Regions from separate parts of the Homo sapiens genome. Here region 1 is linked to region 2. Evidence: promoter capture Hi-C in human tissues and cell types (Jung and others, 2019). All regions are on one chromosome and are shown on one strand. Each heading gives the region's core, a stretch centred on a gene start or on the middle of the fragment in contact. The rest is flanking DNA. Distances are from core to core; before and after follow the strand shown.

Region 1 (2,844 bases), core at 153-2,652, 430 kb before region 2:
ATGGTTGGTTTTTCCTGGGCAGTCCCCGGAACTTAGAAAGCCATTTCTCCCCAGTCTTGACCTCCTGCCTGCTTACTCCTACCCATGGGTTGCACACAGACTCCCCTGTAGCCCAGTGCTTGTTACCAGTTGCTGGCCAGCAACAGCCCAGGGGGATGGCAACACCCACCTAGCCGTCTGCCAAGCCAGGAGGTCAGCACATGAGCACACAGTGGTGTCTGCCCTCTAGGCCAAGGTGCACAGTGTTAGGAGCCTCTTGCTCCACTCTCCAGATCAGCCTGGAAACCAGAGCTTCCCTCGTCTTAGACAAACAGATGGCCGTGGGCGATGCAGAGCCCTGAACTGCTGAGGGTGCTCCTTCCATTCTCGCCCTTCCCCAAAAAACATACACCAAACTTACCCCCAATCACAGCATCTGAGACCACAAAGCCCCACGGACACAGCTGCCCCGGGTACTGCCTGCCTTCCCCTTTTCTGGCCTCTGCAAACTAGCCATTCACCTGATGAAGCCCCTGGGGCAGTACCTTGGAAACCCCTGAGAGGAGGAGTTGAAGGAGGCTCAAAGCCTTTCAAGGACAGTGTGCACTCTGCCTGCCTCCTATTCTCTCCTGTCCTCTTAAGCCCAGAGTCTACAACAAAATTGTGTACCGCAATTCTCAGAGCTCTCTAACTTTAACCTTTCCCACCTTCCCTAGAACACATTTTTGGGTGGGGATCATCTGAGAGGCCCATGGATGAGTCCCCAAGATGACCTCTGTGGGTGACCAAGACAATCTTGTCTTTTGAGGCACCTGGAGTCTCTCATCCTTTTTTGAGCTGGGCTGTCCTCAAAGCAGGCCCTTACCTCTTATGTGGCCTCATCTTTAGAGGTGGGAAGTGGGCCCACATCCCCCACCCCAGCCCTGCAGTGGAGCTAGCGTGGGCCTGCTGGAGGACAGAACTGTGGAACAGGGTCCTGTGAGGATATGTGGCAGGGTTGGCGGGGGGATAGGGGGTCATGGAGGAGCCTACCTCTGAAAAGCATTCCCCTAGCTGCTACTGAAGCTAAATACAATTTATTTCATGCTGGGGGACAGAAAGGAGCAAGGGAGAGCAGTCACCTGCTCCTTATCTGGGCTATTTTCTTAGCAGACCTCAAAATGAGACCATGGTGGGAAGCTGGGCTGGGGCCAAGGGAAGAAGCTTGCCAGCACTGTCAGCCGATGAGCCCAGGAGAAAAAGCTGGGCCTAGTCTCTGCCCCATTCCTGTTCCACACCTGTCTGTACCCCTGTCTCTCCTTTCCCTGGCTCTGCCAGACTCTCTATCTCCCTGGGCGCCAGCCTCCCCACCCACCCCTGGAGGGCGGGGCTTGGCTGCACCCACGTGTGGTGGAGTTAAATGCTCCTAGCCGGCAGAGGAGCTAGGGAGTGTGGCACTGAGCCGGCTCAGGCAGAGACGCGGCACCATGGCTAGCAAGAAAGTCTGCATTGTAGGCTCCGGGAACTGGTAAGCAGCTCTGTCAAGTGATATGGGGGAAGGGTAGGCCCCCCAAGACAGAGGTGGGTAGGAGGCAGAATGGGTGGGAAAGGCCCTCAGGTTCCTGTTCAGCCCCTGCTGCTATCTTCTATCATAGCAGCACAGGACAGACGGTGCCCGGCCCTCTCCTGACCCCCGCCCTCCTGGGCAGCTGCACCTGTTCACCATGGGAAGGCGTCTCCAGAGCTCTCTATGTGAAGAGCCGCTTGAGTTTGGGGGTGGGAAGATGAGAAGTGGGGCTCCCTTCTCTAGTAGCAAAGGGTGAGGAGACTGAGTCTCCTTTCTACTGCCAGGTCACTGGGGACTATTTGTCATGGGAGTGGAGGTGATAAGGAAGGTAGGTAGGAGTGAACAGCCTGGGGGGCTGCTGTGAGATCCTGAGGTGGGGCGCTGCCCCAACTCCTGCCACTGTTCCCTCCTCCTGTACTTTCCTGTGCTCCCCCTCCCACCAGGGGCTCAGCCATCGCCAAGATCGTGGGTGGCAATGCAGCCCAGCTGGCACAGTTTGACCCACGGGTGACCATGTGGGTATTTGAGGAAGACATTGGAGGCAAAAAGCTGACTGAGATCATCAACACGCAGCATGAGAATGTCAAATACCTGCCAGGGCACAAGTTGCCCCCAAATGTGGTGAGCCCCAACACCCTGCGAAGAACAGGGAGAGGAAGGGAGGGCCAGGAGTTGGAGCCGACCTTACTCAACAGGTGCCTCCTGCTGAGAGGGCCGCTTCAGGTGCAGCAGGACTTGGGAAGGTCTCAGGAGGGCTGCTCTGGGCCCTTTCCTGAGGACTGAGGAGAACCTATGCTTTCCCCTCACAGGCTCCCAGGCGGGTGGGTGGGGAAGGGATGGGAGAACAAGTTGGTCTCCATGGCAGCCAAAGACTGGGCTCCCAGACTTGGGGTCCAGTAGTGCCTGCCTCCGGCACTAATCCTGTTACTCATTCACTGAGTGAGTAGCCGACTTGGAGGCTGCTCCTTGGACTTACGGTCTTTGGTCAAATCCACGTGGCTCTCCCCACCTGGAAAGGGGAAGCAGGGAAGAGAGCAGAAAGGCTGGGGCTCCCCCTTCCCAGCTGGGGTTCCTGAGGAGCTGGGTGATGAAATCTTATTTGAGCTCTTTCTTTTGCCAAGCCCAGGCTGCTTTTGGCCTCCCGCACTGTCCCACAGCCAAGGGATAGGAGAGTGCTGGGATGAGGTTTCCAGGAGTCCTCAAGAGCCCAGGACAGCTGGAGGGAGACAGAGTGGTAGCTGGGGGGAGGGAGTAGAGTGTCTTATTCCTCCAAGTTCAGTCCTTCTAGATTCAGTCCCAAACAAGCCTTCCTGCTCCCC
Region 2 (2,700 bases), core at 134-2,633:
AGCTAATTTTTGTATTTTTTGGTAGAGACGGTGTTTCTCCAAGTTGACCAGGCTGGTCTCGAACTCCTGACCTCAAGTGATCTGCCTGCCTCGGCCTCCCAAAGTGCTGGGATTACAGGTGTGAGCCACAATAATTGTATTTTTTTTTTTTAATGTTGAACTGTCTTAATGCAAGGCATATGCTTAATTATTCAGAGTGTGTGCTGTTGTTTTGGCCTAGTGAGGATTAGGGGACAGGACTTTAGTTCTGACTCTGACACCTTGTAGCCTGTTGAATCCTTCTCCTAATCTCCTTTCTCCCCTACCCCCAAACTCATTATCCTGTGCTTTTTTTTTTTTAATTTTTTTGGTCACACTTACCAGATTGCTTGTTTATTATTCTCTAATTTTTTTTTTTTTTTTTTTTTTTTTTTGTAGAGACAGGGTCTCACTTTGTTTCCCAGGCTGGTCTTGAATTCCTGAGCTCAAGCGATCCACCTGCCTTGGCCTCCCAAAGTGCTGGGATTATAGGCTAGAGCCACTGCACCTGCCAGATTGCTTTATAATTGTTTGTTTACACTTCTCTATTCTTCCCAGAGGCTAGAAACCATGTCTTATTCATTTTTACCTTACCTGTTGTGAAACATTGAGGGAAGGAAATCGGTAGGATGTGAGGGAATAGGTAGGGATTGAGTAAAAAATGGCCCAGATTTTGAGTTTGAGTGACCAGGCGAGTGATAGTGTGTTATATATACAAACATCTGAGTTGCCGGTTTGGGGTGAAGAGTTTAATTTTGGACATGTTGGAGTCTATGACAATGTGGGAAGACCATCCCAGTCAACAAATGGCATTGGGAGGACATTCGAGTGGCTGTTCAATAGGCAGTTAGAAGTGGTGAATTATATCCTGGAGCTGTTGAAGGATTTGGGCATCATCTTCATGTGATTCATCAGGTGAATCAGATCTTTGAAAAGGAAAGTAAAAAATGAAGCTAATGAGGAATGCCTCTGTTTAGGAAGCTAGAGGAGAAAGAAGAGTCATCCAAAATGACAGGGGTGATCAGTCACAGAAGTAGGAGGTGGACTGGGGTGGGTGGTGTGGTGCTTCTGTGGAGACAAATAGTAATGTTAAACCTATGGAGAGCTTAGGATAATTCAGTGAGAGAATACAAAGGACTGGATTTGTCAGTTACAGTCCTGTGGCAGAATCAGAGGCTAGATTGAAAACGGGAATGAGGACATAGAAATGGTGAGCGCAGGCTTCTTATTTTGAAGTTGGGAAAAAGGAATAAAGAACAAGGATGGATTCAAAAGAGTACTTATTTATTTTACTTTACTATTACTTCTTAATAGATACCGAGGAGTCTTCATAGGGCTAAGGGAAAGAGACAGAGGAAAGAAAAGCTTGTGTTGGTGTGGGAGAGCTGGGCATAGGTTAGATCTCTGGATGTGTGGAAGAGGTGAGCTGCTTGAGAACAGGAGGGCAGGGCTGCTGTTCTCTCCTTCTCTAATAAGAAGAAGAGGATGAGTGAAAAATTCCACCTCAGAGGGAGGTTGGTGTGGGGATAAAGGGAAAAGGTTCAGAAAGGTGAAAGCTTAAGGGTTTGAGAAATGTGAAGAGAACAAGTGCATCAGCCATCGGGGAGTGTGAGAGGAATTAATGAAACACTGAAAGCATTGCCGATAGTCAGCATGAATTTGGAGTGGACACAGAAGTATGAAATGGAAAATAGCCCCACCCCACCTCCGTGCCCAGTCCCACTTCCCAAAATGTAGCTACTTTCTAAAGTCAGTTTTGTAGTTCCTGTAGTTAATAGTGTAACTTTCAGTAATATGTTGCAGTCAACAGTGTCTCTTGATCCCCTTCTGTGAACCATGAGAAATTTACCCATTTCTTGTACTCTTTTCTTCCTGAGTTTTTTTTTGTAATAATATTACTATTTTTCTGTTATCAAAGTAAATAATGTTTATATTCTCTTTTGTATAACAAAAATTAGTCTTCACTCTGTATGTACAAATTAAGCCTAAACATATTCCACACATACAGTTTTTGCAATATTATTAAGTAAATATTATTTACTTTGGAATCTAGAGGTGCTGTTGAATACTGGGAAAAGCAAACATAGTATTTTATTACCAAACTGCTTCAAAGAGAATGGCCCAATCATCAAGATCTAGTGAATCCTCTTTCAATTTCTTTCCAGCTTTCTATGCTCCTTTTAGGTCTTACTCAACTGCTGTTGTTTCTTATACTTTAAATTGTCATTTTTCTTGTATTTTTTAAAAACTTGGAATAGTTACTGTTTTTAATATGGGATGCATGCGTGTTGAGCTTTAAGTTCTTGCCTTTCAAAAACGTCTTTGTCTCATTTGATTGTCATTTGAATGTAGCCCACTTGAATACTTCGGAAGCTTTTAGGGTTTGCTTTTTGTCTTTGGAGTTCTGAAATTTCATTAGGATGTGTCTAGGCATGTGTCTTTTCTCTTTCATCCCGTTTGGCTCTAGGTAGCTCGCTCTTTTCTTTTTTCTTTTTTTTTTTTTTGACAGAGTCTTGCTCTGTCGCCTAGGCTGGAGTGCAGTGGCACTATCTCTTATGGAATATTACATACAAAAGAATATATATAAAGTGTATGCACAGGCCGGGTGTGGTGTAATACCAGCACTTTTGAGAAACCTAGGCGGGTGGATCACCTGAGGTCAGGAGTTTGAAACCAGCCTGG

The links. Contacts are between HindIII fragments. The study calls those that stand out against the background at their distance.
Region 1: a contact is called between the fragment with the promoter of GPD1 here and a fragment that was not itself captured in region 2, in 3 of the 25 tissues and cell types used here (dorsolateral prefrontal cortex, hippocampus and mesenchymal stem cells).

What each region holds. Positions count from the first base shown.
Region 1 is chr12:50,102,606-50,105,449 of GRCh38, forward strand. It overlaps GPD1 (glycerol-3-phosphate dehydrogenase 1), which reads left to right and starts at 1,403. Exons shown (of 8, transcript NM_005276.4): 1 at 1,403-1,486; 2 at 1,969-2,146. The coding sequence starts at 1,446. RefSeq lists an enhancer at 413-462. The HindIII fragment of the contact is 8,009 bases long and covers 1-2,844 here.
Region 2 is chr12:50,536,729-50,539,428 of GRCh38, forward strand. The region is part of intron 1 of DIP2B (disco interacting protein 2 homolog B); the gene reads left to right. Among named protein-coding and RNA genes, the nearest start is that of DIP2B, 33 kb to the left of the region's middle. The HindIII fragment of the contact is 3,334 bases long and covers 1-2,700 here.